Regions from separate parts of the Homo sapiens genome. Here region 1 is linked to region 2. Evidence: promoter capture Hi-C in human tissues and cell types (Jung and others, 2019). All regions are on one chromosome and are shown on one strand. The core of a region is centred on a gene start or on the middle of the fragment in contact, and the rest is flanking DNA. Distances in the headings are between cores, read along the strand shown.

The links. Contacts are between HindIII fragments. The study calls those that stand out against the background at their distance.
Region 1: a contact is called between a fragment that was not itself captured here and the fragment with the promoter of TOM1L1 in region 2, in 1 of the 25 tissues and cell types used here (dorsolateral prefrontal cortex).

Annotation. Positions count from the first base shown.
Region 1 is chr17:54,429,309-54,436,451 of GRCh38, forward strand. No RefSeq gene overlaps it. Among named protein-coding and RNA genes, the nearest start is that of TOM1L1, 470 kb to the right of the region's middle. The HindIII fragment of the contact is 4,215 bases long and covers 3,673-7,143 here.
Region 2 is chr17:54,897,917-54,905,179 of GRCh38, forward strand. TOM1L1 (target of myb1 like 1 membrane trafficking protein) reads left to right here and starts at 2,936. Exons shown (of 16, transcript NM_005486.3): 1 at 2,936-3,007; 2 at 5,792-5,876. The coding sequence starts at 2,950. LOC124904033 (a long non-coding RNA gene) reads right to left here and starts at 2,821. Exons shown (of 2, transcript XR_007065854.1): 1 at 692-2,821. RefSeq lists a silencer at 2,611-2,950 and enhancers at 3,031-3,140, 3,161-3,250. The HindIII fragment of the contact is 7,312 bases long and covers 1-3,905 here.

The sequences.
Region 1 (7,143 bases), core at 4,530-7,029, 470 kb before region 2:
GCATAGGTGGACATAGTCCCTGTCTGCCCTTTGAGAGCTCACAGGATAATGGGAAAATGGACATTAACTAAATGATTACAAAACATGTATTTAGCTACAGAGTGTGATAAGGACTTTGAAGGATACATATTTGATTCTGTGGGACTATGTACCCAAAGATCTGATCTACTCAGGGGGACTATAAAGGCTTTTCTAAGGAAGTGATGATTGTACCAAGACCATAAGGTAAGTGATACATGTATATTGAGAAGGCAGAAGGCAGATGGCAGAGGGCAGGAGGGAACCAGGAGAGTGGAGGAGAATGTAGAACTGCAGTGCATTCTAGGAGTGAGATGTGTCAAGACAGATGGACATGTAATGTCATGGAGGCCATACTAAGGAGATTTATCTTTACCAGAAGAGTAATGGTAGCCAGGTGCAGTGGCATATGCCTGTAATCCCAGCAACTCAGGAGTGTGAGGTGGCAGGATCGCTCGAGCCAAGGTGGTCGAGGCTGCAGTTAGCCACAATTACACCATCGCACTCCAGCCTGGGTGACAGAGTGAGATTCTATCTCAAAAAAAAAAAAAAGTAATGGGATGTCACTGAAGGGTCTTAAGGTAGGGGTGATAGAAGAAATGGATGTTTTTGTATAGTGTAATTTTACATCATAGGAAAAATGGAAAATCTAGTCTCTACATATTTTTTAAAAGCCCTGAGCTTATTTATCTATCTATTTATTAATTTTTAATAAAAGGAAAGTGTAGTTAGGGAAAGTTTTCTAAGAAAGCATAAAAGCAATCTGTTTTCTCAGATATTATATAAGGTACACTGAACAACAAAATAGGCAATGCCTTCAACAATTGTTCTGCAACAATTGTTGGAGCTTTCCAAATATAGTCATTTCTTTTAGCAATATTAAAGAACAAAAACTAAGGGAATAGCATTGAAACAAAATATGGGACAAGGTTTTGTTTGTGTGTGGACAGCAAAGCTAATGTGTTCCAGATAAACACTTTTCTGTGGGTCTCATTAGATTTTAAGCTAAAACTGACAGCTGAACTACTACTGTAGATACAAAGATGAAAAAGGCATGGTCCCTGTTCTCAGAGACACCACAACTAATTTATGAAGATCTATTATTATTTCCTAAGCTTTTATTTGTTTGTTTTTTGTCTTGAGACAGAGTCTCACTGTATCGCCCAGGCTGGTCTCAAACTCCTGAGATTGAGCCTGATCTTCCCTCAGCCTCCCAAAGTGCTAGGATTACAGGTATGAGCCACCATGCCTGCCAATATTTTCTTATACTTAATTAAAATGTATGAATTATTTATATCACAGGCATACCTGTATTTAGTTAAAATATCCAATAGCTTATTAGACAATGTCCATGAAATAAGATTATTTCTATTTATTTTTTATTAACTGCAATGTTTGTCTAGATGTTTAGACTGATACTAACTTTTCTCAAACTTCTGAACATTGCTAAGTTATTTCTTCCACAAAATTATAATCACACATTTCCAAGCTATGTAATTATAGGGTTAAACCCATTAATAGAAATCGTAATTTGTCATTACATATTTAAAATGACCCTAACAAAAGTACAAAAGGGTAAGCAATAGCCAATAATATATGCTCACAGAGATTAGATTCAAAATGTTATTCATACTCCTTAGAATATTAATTTTGCAAGATACTGAAACACTACAACATTTGCAAATATTATCCTAGGCATTTGGCACAGAAATTTCATATCCTTGGTAAGATTTTAGCACAGAAATTGGGTTTTAAAGTCTTGTACTTAAGACTGCACGATTTCAGGAAGGTTTCATTAATACAAATGATAAACAAATTTATATGGTTGAAAAGCAATAACAAAAAATTTTTCTAAATTTCTGAACAAATTGATATAAACCAAATCAGAAAATGTGCTACTCTACCAAACTTGGGTTCCCCGAAACTGTTTCTGCATGCATACGGACTTTTCATTTGACTTGATGATACTCTAAGTGTATTAGCCAATATGGCTAATCAGTATATTTTCTTATTCTACTTTGAATGTCCCTTAAGAAGGCAAGAGCATAGTTTGACTATTAGAATACTTGATATGTAGCTGCAGTTTAGGAGGATACTTTCCCAAACCCTACTTTCATTTTTTAAAAGTCAATATTATTGAGCTATAACATATAAAAATAATGCACCCATTGTAAGTACATGATTCATTGAATCTAGACAACACATGCAATTGCATAAACATCACTACAATCAAGACATAAAATATGTCCAGCACTTCAGAAAGGCTGCTCATGTTTTTTTGAGGTTATCCTCACCCTTGGCCCCAGACAATAACTTATCTGCTGTCATCACAGATTGGTTTCATTTCTTTTTGAATTTCACATATAAAATCATACAGCATGTACTCTTTTGTGTCTTTTTTGTGTTTTCAGATGTTTTATTATAATTATGCTGTATTAGTCTGTTCTCATGCTGCTATGAAGAAATACCCGAGACTGGGTAATTTATAAAGAAAAGAGGTTTAATTGCCTCACAGTTCCACATGGCTGGGGAAACCTCAGGAAACTTACAATAATGGCAGAAGGCACCTCTTCACAGGGTGGCAGGAGAGCAAATGAGTGCCAAACAAAGGGGGAACCCCTTTATAAAACCATCAGATTTCATGAGAACTCAGTGTCATGGAAACACCATGGGGAAACTGCCTCCATCATCCAATCACTTCCCACTGGGTCCCTCCCACAACATGTGGGTATTATGGGAACTACAATTCGAAATGAGATTTGGGTGGGAAAACAGCCAAACCATATCATGTGCCTAGGAATATTTTTGTTTGTATTTATCCTGCTCAGAGCTTTCTAGCTTTTTGAATCTATAAATTTGTGTCTTTGCAAAATTTGGGAATTTGAGGGACATTATTTCTTCACATTTTTCTGTCTTGTTTTTTTTCTATCTTCCTCCTTGGACTCAAATTTCACATATGATACAACAAATGTTATGCCTTTGAGGCTCTGTTCACTTTTTTCAGTATTTTTTCTTTGTCTTCAGATTGAATATTTTCTCCTGTTCATTGATCAAACTTATTGGACTTTTTCTTTGTCATTTCCATTTTGCTGTTAAGCTTATTCACTGAGTTTTTTTTTTTAATTTCAAATATTGTATTTTCCAGTTCTAAAAATTCTATTTTTAATATTTCCATTCCTGAATTTTGTATTTCTATCTTTTTATTCATTCTAAGTATATTTTCCCTTATATTATTGAGCATAATTATAACATCTTCTCTAAAATTTTGTCTAGTAGTTTCAACATCTTGGCCATTTCAAGATCATTATTTTTCTTACTGGTCTTTTCCCCTAAGAGAATGGTTCCCATTTTTGATTTCTTCTTTTGTTAAGTAAGTTTTGTATGGTATCCTGGACATATGCATTTAATATTATAGAGACTCTGGATTCTCTTATATTGCCGCATATAGTGTAGATGTATTTGTTCTAGCAAATTGCTTCGATAAATTTAAACTGCACACTCTTTCTCCTGGGCAGTAGTCCTGATCTCAATTCTGTCCTTTTTGCCTTGCTATGTTACTGAAAGTCTACCACACACAGATGTGATTCAGAGGTCATCGATATCTGGGAAGAGTTTATACACTAATTATTGGACTTTCCCTCTGTGGGTCTCCCCAGGATTCCTAACCTGTTTTTCTACAACTGTGGTTGCCCTGAACTTTCTCCTCTGTTTCTTTGAGCCAACATGACACCAGACTTTCTTGTAGTTTTATCACCCCATGTGCACACACTGTCATTTCTCAGGATGGAAGCAAAGAAAATGGGAAACTCCCCCAGTGCCATTCCCTTCCCAGTATCGATTCCTGTGCCCATCTCCACCCCATAGTCTGTCTGCTTTTTGTCACTCTCCGGTGCCTTTGGGAAGGTTTTGTTATTTATTTTTTATTTTTGGAACAGATTTCATATTTGTTATTTGAGAGAGTGGAGCTTTCTGAGCTATCCACTGGAAGTGGAACCCACATTTATTTTAAATGATCAAATTATGGCAGCTTGAGCCCCCACTGATATATCTGATGAATATTCGTTCACCTCAATATCTCTTTTGGCTATAACAAAAAGTCCTAAAAGTGGTGCCCTAATCATGCTTACGAACCACTGTTGAAACCACTGCCATGTGGTTTTCACTCTACTCCCCCTTTTATATACTCAGTGGCTGTAAAGTCCCTTGGTCAAGCTTTGCCACTGTCACTACCTGCCATGTTGTCCCTAAAAGAGTTCCGAACAGAAAGAGACAGATGGCTTTTATTGCCTTTTTACTTGGAATCCAAAGTAGCTCCATTTGTGCCTAGAGTCACACAAAGAATCTCATTAAATCTGTTTGCCAGATGAGATCAGATACGTGCAGAGTGACACAGCCATAGGGGTTCTAGCATCACCTCTCTGTCCATATCTCCCGTTTATTTCTAAATTATGGTAATAAATATTAATAAAGCTCAGTAACCGAACAATGTGAAGACATGTCTTCACTCTAATGAAAGTAATATTAGCTATAATTTATTGAGTTCTTTACCATGTGCTAGGACCTACTTGATATGGTTAGAGAGTAATACTTAAGAATGTGATCTTTGAAGCTGGATTTTTTGGGTTAATAGTATTACTTTTAATAAGTTGCCAACTCTCTGTGCTTCAGTTTCCCAACTTGGAAAAGAAAAAAAAAACTGACCAACTTTAGAGTGTGTTATAATGATTAAATGAACAATACAGGCCATCCATTTAGAATTGTGCCAAGTACATAGTGAGCACTCAATAAATATTAGCTATTACTGTAATTATGACTGTCACAACAATCCTATGGAATCTATTCTCTTAATTTTTAAATATTTTATAAATGAGAAAACTGAGACAATAAAAGCTTCCACCACTTGCCCAGGTTCACTTAGTTTTGAAGAAACATAACTTGAATTTTGAGTCAGATGTTCTGGCTCCAGGGTCCAGGTATTTAACCAGTCTCCTGTTTTAAACGCAGTCCAAGTAGCTGGTTGCAGGATGAATGCCACACTGTTCTCCCAGTTCTCCCCACTGCACCAAGGTTCACATGTTATTAACTGATACGAACAAACACTGGGAAAAGTGGGAAGAGATTTTATCAGGCTCTTGCTCAGCCAACGAAAATTCTCTTGTAACTCCTATGATTAATTGTACTAAAAAATCCACTATAACTTTTAAAGATTTAAGGTTTGTTCTAAATCTTCAACTTTTTAGTGTTTTTTTTCATTTGTTTTTAATCTCAGAAAATACATCAGTGCTGAATCACACAAATAGGTAGATAAATACTGTCTTGGTAAGTTTGATCTTATGATAATATGTTGTTTTTGTAGTAGCATTGCTCAGGTACTGCACTATTAATATTTGATTAGCATATTTTAGAAATATATCTCTCTGTGGTTATATGTCACACATAAAAACAAGTAAATATTAAATTTACATACAACTTTAGTTAGTAGTAAAAATAGAAATAGATTTTATTCATTTTGCCCTCAGCAGATTTATCACTTTTATTAAAGAATTCAAGCTTTCATGTTATGAATTATTAGAATAATAATAATCTATGATAGAAAAGGACACAGAAGGTTTGTAATTCTTCCTTACATCAAATTTTGCATAGAAATCCTTTCTGTTATATCATAGGTATATCATCATTCATCCGCTATTTTAGATTTATCCATTGTTAGAAAGTGTTGATTTTTAAAACATTCTTTCCATATTGAGCTAAAAGCTCAGTTTTTATAAATGTCACTCATTAGCTTTAGATGCAGCCATAAGAAAACATGAAAATGAACTCTCTCTTTTATGTTACAGCTATTTAAATACTTAAAAATAATTATCCTTTTTATCCAAATATCCTTGGATTAAATAGTCTATATATTATTTCCAGAACTTCCTTAACATATAATAATTGTCTTACATATGAACACATGCTCATCTATTTCTGTTTTAAAAAGTGGTGAGTAGAACTTAACACAGTACAATGTATATGATCAGATGAGTGCAGAATTCACTAGGTCTATCACCTCTCTTGACCCAGAAACTCTACTTGGATTAATGCAGTTTCTGAATGCTTTTTTTCTCTTCTACTGCTGACCTTGCCACTAACAAAATATCATTAAAGTTTTCTTACTGCTTTAAATATTATTTAAATATTACATCAATCTATAAAAACATACTTCTTTCTAATGTAGGAGAGGCTGGCAAGATGGCCAAATAGGAACAGCTCCGGTCTGCAGCTCCCAGTGAGATCAACGCAGAAGGTGGGTGATTTCTGCATTTCCAACTGAGGTACGTGGTTCATCTCACTGGGAATGGTTGGACAGTGGGTGGAGCCCACAAAGGGCAAGCTGAAGCAGGGTGGGGCACCACCTCACCTGGGAAGTGCAAGGGGTTGAGAGATTTCCCTCTCCTAGCCAAGGGAAGCCATGAGAGACTGTACCAGGAGGAACGGTGCACTCTGGCTCAGATAACACACTTTTCCCATGTTCTTCACAACTGGCAGGCCAGGAGAATTCCTCCAGTGCCTATGCCACCAGGGCCCTGGATTTTAAGCACAAAACTAGGCAGCTGTTAGGGCAGACACTGGGCTAGCTGCAGGAGTTTTTTTTTCGTACCCTAGTGGTACCTGGAATGCCAGCGAGACAGAACCGTTCACTTCCCTGGAAAGGGGGCTGAAGTCAGGAAGCCAAGTGGTCTGGCTCAGCAGGTCCCACCCCCACGCAGCCCAGCAAGCTAAGATCCACTGGCTTGAAATTCTCGCTGCCAGCACATCAGTCTGAGGTCAACCCGGGATGCTCGAGCTTGGTGGGGGGAGGGGCATCTGCCATCGCTGAGGTTTGAGTAGGCGGTTTTACCCTCACAGTGTAAACAATGCTGCCTGGAAGTTCGAACTTGATGGAGCCCACTGCAGCTCAGCGAGGCCACTGTGGCCAGACTGCCTCTCTAGATTCCTCCTCTCTGGGCAGGACATATCTGAAAAAATGGCAGCAGCCCCAGTCAGGGACTTATAGATGAAACCCCCATCTTCCTGGGACAGAGCACCTGGGGGAATGGGTGGGTGTGGTTACAGCTTCAGCAGACTTAAACATCCCTGCCTGAC
Region 2 (7,263 bases), core at 1,686-4,185:
AGATGGAGTCACTCTGTTGCCCAGGCTGGAGAGCAGTGGCGTGACCTCGTCTCACTGCAGTCTCCGCCTCTCGGGTTCAAGCGATTCTCCTGCCTCAGCCTCCCGTGTAGCTGGAATTACAGTCACCTGCCACCATGCCCAGCTAATTTTTGTATTTTTAGTAAAGACAGGGTTTCACCATGTTGGCCAGGCTGGTCTTGAACTCCTGACGTCAGGTGATATGCCTGCCTCGGCCTCCCAAAGTGCTAGGATTACAGGTGTGAGCCACCGCGCCCAGCCATTACTTTGGTTTTTCTAACATGAAAAATAAAGTAATAACCGTACTGGTCTCATAACGTTATTATGTGATTAAATGAGATAACGCATGTAATATGTTTAGAACATATCTGGCATATAGTTCTAGCACAAAAAATATTCGCTATTGAACAAGAACAGAAAAAAAGCAGGACCTTGTGCCAGCAAAGTATATGACTTCCCCTATTCCTGTATTCTTCAAGAGGTCTTGCACTGAATCAAGCAGATCCTTTAAAAAAGCAAGACATCAGGCTCAATAAACAGATTCACCTAGTGACAATAATATAGGCTTTGGAACCAGGCAGCCATGAGTCAAACTTTAGTGAAGCCATTTATAAACTTGATCTTTCTGAATCTCAGATTATATATTTGTAAAAATGAGGTTAATACTACCCACCTCTCAGGATTGTGAAGATTAAGATAGATTTCTAGTTGCAGACACTTAGCACATTTTACATAAATAAATGTTGACTAAGTGTTCTTGGAATTGAAATTGTGGTAAGATTTTACTCCTGGTGTCATTTTACCCCTGTGGGATTCTGCTCCTTCTCTGACCTCAACTTAGCTGTGAATTCTATTGTCCCCGCTGCTAGACTTTACTAACATTAACCACGTTGATTTTCATGCCTGGAGAGAAGAGGGATCATGCAGAACGGAACAGAGTACAGGAAGAGAAGGCTGCAACAACCACCACAACACCCTGGAGGGCACAGGGAGAGAGAAAAACTTCTGCCAGGCATTGCTGAGATAGAACACAGGTAGCACTCATCAACCTTGGTTCTGTTCACCCAAGCATCAAGTCCAGAAGACACTCCTTGCTACTGTTTCTCCTCTTTCTCGGTGCCTCAGTCCTGTCATGTAAGGAAATCAGACATAGGAGAAAAAAACAAAAAAAAAAAAAGAAGAAGAAGAAGACGAAAAGAAAAACCTCCCACATAGAAGTATGTTAAAAATCTATCTCTCTGGATGCTCGGTTCCTTTCTCGTTCTCATTAACTGATAGAAGGCCACTGACACCAACATTGGCCTAAGCTAAAATTGGTTTTCTTTTTCAGAGATTGTAGGTTGATTCTAGGTTGCAGAAAAGGCAAAATATTTTGCTAGAGGCATGGAATACAGATTAGGTTGGTGATGTCACAAAAGAGGTTTTCAACAGTGTCAGCAGAGGCTATAGTGATGAGTAAGGAAGTTGATAAACGGCAACATCTGAAATAGCTACTCGCCCTGAATAGGCAGGTGGAGAATATTAGTTACACGTGGGACAAATCCCATTATGAGACATATCATCACAACAAGAATATTTCATTCTAGATTTTAGAATCCCAGGTTTTGGCTCACTTTGGTCAAGAAAAATTATAAATAATTGAGTTACAGATAATTAAATGTTAGCCTCCTGGAGTGCATGGCAATTGGTTTTGACCTCTATATTAAAATTCACAAGACCACGGACATAAGTCAAAACAGGTCCCCTTCGTCTCCCTAGTCACCATCTCCAGGGCTAAAAAACAGACTTGAAATGGGTGGCAGTTAGACTACAGGAAACAGGATCTACAAGCACCAGGAGCTCATCTATGGCTATCTGACATCGCCTGGGGACACCTCACTCTCTGGCAGGCTCCTGCTGGCTGGAGATTGTTAACATCGCCAATCAGATGTTAATTGAATGCAAAGGAATAGGAAATAAATTCTGGTTCTGAAGGGGCAGCTGGAAAGGTGTTGGGCTTCTCAGATTCCAACCTACATTACAAAGCAGGCCTAAAGCCAAGCATACTCCTTGCCAGAAGAAACGGAAAGCCCCTCTCCCGTTTTTAGAATCAGGCTGGAAAACACGGCTCCCAGAAGGTGGGGTTAGAAAACAAGAGCTTGCGAGGCGGCGCCCTGTGGTCCCTCGAGGAAATAGTAGAGAGACAAAGAGGGCCTGCTCCTGGGAAGCCCTAAATTCGAAGCCAATCCTTCCTCCTAGACATGACCACAACTTTAAAGGGCAGGGCGCACACCTCCCCTCCCGGATCTCTAGGACAAAGGCAGGTCGAGGGTAAATATTTCTAGTTATTCAGTATATTCAGTGGCTAACTATTTATTTTGTGGGTACCAGACACCGACATAATCGGTTACGTCCTTCCCTTAATTCTCATAATTCTGAGGTTTGTGTTATTAACCCCCTATTATCTTTGGTCTACCCAGGGCAGCCAAAGAGGCGCAGAGAAGAATGACAAGGTGCCCAGCAAGCGGCAGGATCAAAGCCTGGGTCTCTAATTCCCAGGCTGGAGATTCTGGGCTGCCTGCTCCTCCTGCACGGGGCGAAAAGCCCACCTGGGATCCGAGCGGGCGGCCGCGCCACTCTCGCAGGCTCCATACACCCGCCACTACCCGCCTGTACCACCTGCAGCCGGCAGCGCAGCCTCCTCGCGGGTCCCGCAGGGCGCGCTGCAGGTGCGCTGGGCGTCCCGAAGCCCCGCCCTCGCGTCCCTGCCCCGCGCCCAGCTCCTCACGCTCGGTGCCCGCGCCCCGCAGCGGCAGCGCAGAACGCACCGCCTCTGCCAGAGCCCGGGAAGCGCTCGGGCGAAGAGGAGGAGCCAAGGGTACCGAGCGGGTGGAGTCGGGAGCCGGAGAGCGGTGGAGGCGGATTTCCTGGGCCCGGCCCTCTGGCGCTACCATGGCGTTTGGCAAGAGTCACCGGGATCCCTACGCGACCTCCGTGGGCCACCTCATAGGTAAGGAGGCGCGGGGAGAGACGCCCAGGCAGGCAGGGGACCGTGGGATCCTTTCCTGCTTGATCCATTCTCGGCCTGCAGAGGACGGAGTTAGTCCAACTTGAAAAAATTATTCCCCTCCCCCCGCAACTTTCCCAAGGCACCCGCATTCCACCCGGCCCCCTTTCGTCGTTTCCTTCTTGGCCAACTCACTGTAGAACCTCAGTCCTCAAAAATGTACCTTCCTTTCGATGCCGCCTGGGGAGTGGAACCAAACAGGTGAACCGCGGGAGTCAGGCATGGAGTGTTTGGGCCTCCACGAGGAGACACCAGAAACTTCTCGGTAGGGGAAGTTATTCCTAAAGGCACATTCTCCAGGGCACGGTATTGTTATGCCCGTTTTACAGATCAGAAGAGGAGGCTCTGGGAGACTAAGTGATGTGGCCTTACTGTGAGGGGCAGGTCTCCCCAAACCAGTTTTCTCTAGTGCCAAGCTTATACAACCTGGATTACTTTTCTGGGTAAACAAAGAGAATGAAAATGCTTGGCATTGGAGTGAAGAGGAGGGGAACATAGGAGCCATCTGGGGCCACGGAGGTCTCTCGCAGGCCACTAGGGACTACACCAGCATCCACCTAAATGATTTCTCTCTCCTCCGGATGTACCTTGCATGATGTATGTAGAAGCCAGTGATTGGACTCCTACCAGCACCAGCTCACTGCTCCTTCTTTTCCCTGATTCCTCCCTTGGGAATTGGGTGTGGCACGAGTGCATATTAATGCCAGGCAAAGTGTGATGATGTCAGGAACTTAGTGGGGTGATGAAATCGTGAGAACCTAGTAGTTGTAGTAAAGAGGCCCAGATTTGGAAAATTTAGATCACAGCTCTACTAACTGCTGTGACACCGAACACACCACTTAAACAGAACCTTAGTTTACACATCCTTATAAGATGGTCAGAGTAGCTACCATTGAGGAGATGCTTTCCCTTAATGGCTGTGCTTTTTTGGATATTAGAATGAACCCCAAGCAGAAATGGATTCAGACTGTGTCTTCATAGGCAAACGAAACTTCAGCAGTTCTTCTGCTTAATTTTTTAATTCTGTAAACATGGACTAACTGTCAGCTATGTGCCTGGACCTGGATCAGGCACTGGTGAGGCCAAGGTGAGACGTGGTCTCAAACCTGAGGGAACTCACTTTCTTGTAGAGAAGACGGGCACAGTTTTGTGTGGCACCTTTGCAATGCAAGAAAATGCAAAACACACAAAACTTAGGAGAAGGGAGAAATGAATTCTGCGTGGCTTTTGAAGGGTGAATAGGAGTTTTCTTTTCTAGGGAGGTAAGCTTTGTCCATTCGGTGCCAGATTCAAGTTTTTTGTTGTTGTTGTTTTGTTTTTGTTTTTGTTTTTGTTTTGAGACGGGGAGTGACACCCAGGCTGGAGTGCAGTAGCTCTCGGCACACTGCAACCTCCGCCTACCGGGTTCAAGCACTTCTCCTTCCTCAGCCTCCCGAGTAGCTGGGACTACAGGCACATGCCACCACGCCAGGCTAATTTTTGTATTTTTAGTAGAGATGGAGTTTCACCATGCTGGCCAGGCTGGTCTCGACCTCCTGACCTCAGGTGATCTACCCACCTCGGCCTCCCAAAGTGATTGGGATTACAGGCGGGAGCCACCGGGCCCCGCCTCAAGTGGTTCTTTTCCTGGATTGAAAGCAAGCTAAACTTTGGGGTTCCCCCAAGCAAGTCCTTATTCTTCCCCTTCTCTATCTTTTTTGTTTTTTTCTCCATTTCCCCCAGAACCCGGTGTTTTCATGCTTAGGGATCTTGTCCTTCTCTTAGGAAGATGTTAGCGCATTCATACTGAGTGTTCCATTACCCTTTCCAGATAACATCTTGTATTCTTAAAGCGGCTGTCTGGAGAGGGAAAGATGCCTGATTATCTAATCATAGGGTTCCAAGTGCAGAAGCATTCTGGTCAGCCTGGTGCAGCTGTGGTTAGTTTAGATGCTTATTATTATTAGTTCGGATAGTTATCCAGCGCCAGTTTGAAATAATTAAGGCTGAAAGTAAAAGTGTATGCAATGGAAGTTTTTACATAGTTGAGGTAAGCAGTGTCTTTGCAAGTATTGGTTGAAGTTATAATAATTGGTAAAATTAGAAGGAATCGTGAGATTAAGATGATAGGACAATAAACGTATTACTTTTATTTGGAGTTGTGCCAATGTTTTGGCTCCTAAGAACAACGGATTACTTCTCTCCTTTAAAAGTTCTTTCCTCCTGTCCCCCCAGAGAATAAATTATTTTTAAAAACAAACAGTGGGACCAAACAACCTAGATTTGAATGCCAATTCTACTTCATACTGACTGTATAACTTTGGTAATTTCCTAACCTCTCTGAACTTCTATCTCATCATCTCTCACAGTGGGTTAAATGAAATTGCGTATGATAAAATACTTAGCACTATGCAGTTCACCTTCTAGGTAGCTGCTCACTAAGCCCTAGTTCCCTTCTCTGAAAGCCAGGCAGGCGGAGATTTAGCTGGCCTGGCCTGGGCCTGTGGCCAGCTGTTGTGCTTGAGGTCTTTATTAATAGGTCACTCATTACTGTTGCTGCAGCAGCACTCTGAACTTGGGTTCTGATTGATTCCTGAATTACTGAGAACTGTTCCAAAAAAAATCACTTTGCCCTTTGGCAATGTAAACTTAATGACACTTGCTGGTGCAGCCTAGGCAGATTATTTCAGGAATACCAGACATTTTTTATTCTGTTGTAGCTCAGACTCAACAGCTTTTTCTTGGCAGAAAAGGCTACATTTGCTGGAGTTCAGACTGAAGATTGGGGCCAGTTCATGCACATCTGTGACATAATTAACACTACCCAGGATGGGTGAGTACAGCATGGTTTCCATGTATTTGCCTCTGACAAGAAGCATCAGAACTACAGCACGTTTTCTCTTGCAAATATTTCGGTTTTGTTGTTGAAAGAGTGTTTTCATCATTCATTAGGCACCCTCTATCTTTTGAAGACTTGTCAGGTTGAAATATTGGGGCAGCTGCTTGCTTCAACATGTGGAGTATCCATAAATCCACTATAATTTTTCTCCTCTTGGCAGTTTCTTTAATAGTTTCAAATTTTGTCACTGTGAAGCTCAAATTCCTTCCTTCTAAAAGATTGAAAAAGGCCGGGCGCAGTGGCTCACGCCTGTAATCCCAGCACTTTGGGAGGCCGAGGCGGGCGGATCATGAGGTCGGGAGATGGAGACCATCCTGGCTAACACGTTGAAACCCCATCTCTACTAAAAAATACAAAAAAAATTAGCCAGGCATGGTGGCGGGTGCCTGTAGTACCAGCTACTTGGGAGGCTGAGGCAGGAGAATGGCGTGAGCCTGGGAGGTGGAGCTTGCAGTGAGCAGAGATCATGCCACTGCACTCCAGCCTGGGTAACAAAGCAAGACTCTATCTCAAAAAAAAAAAAAAAAAAAAAATTGAAAAAGAGAGATTGTGTCCTTCTTTAGGAATATCTCCAGCTCCCAGTGCCAGTATTTGATGAAACCATCAAATATTATCAAGAAGCTGGTTGACTCCCGGTGGTGACCTATTTCTGAGCAATTATTTCTAGTAACCAGGAAACAATCTAGCAGTCTTTTTTCCTCCCTGTCCCAGGACAATTTTTTTCCTTCTGAATGTCAACTCACCCATGTTTAAGCTGTATTCTTATAGCATGTGCTATCGTTTGTTCTTAAACTTCTTAAACTTTCGAGAATCGAAGTTATAAGAAAAAAGTCATTAAGAAGAGCAAACTGGTTTGCTTGTAGTCAATTACAAGTTATTCTAAGGAACACAATTCTGGTAATTTTCCTGGGCATATTAAAGTGATAACTGGCAGTAAAAGAGATTTAGTCTAGCTTATGTTGATAAAGAAAACATCAAACTTAATTATTGATTATAAATAAATGGAAAGCGCTTATGGTTAGTACTTTTAAGTGTGTATGGTTTTTTTCCTATAATCCTATTTACCATGTTTAGTTCCTCTGGGAACATTTTCATTGATAATACCAATTCATTGATAATACAAAAAGAGAATCTTAAAGTAAATTTGGACCCTTATAAACAGTCCTTTCTTTGTAACATAAAATTGTGGCGTATTGGCAGCTGACCTAGTTTGTTGTAATTCCTGTTACATCCCCTTGTCTATAGGGTGCTCAGGAAATACTAATAGTTTTAATAAAAATGGTAACATTCATTGTTTCGGAAGTTGCATTTCCTATAAGTT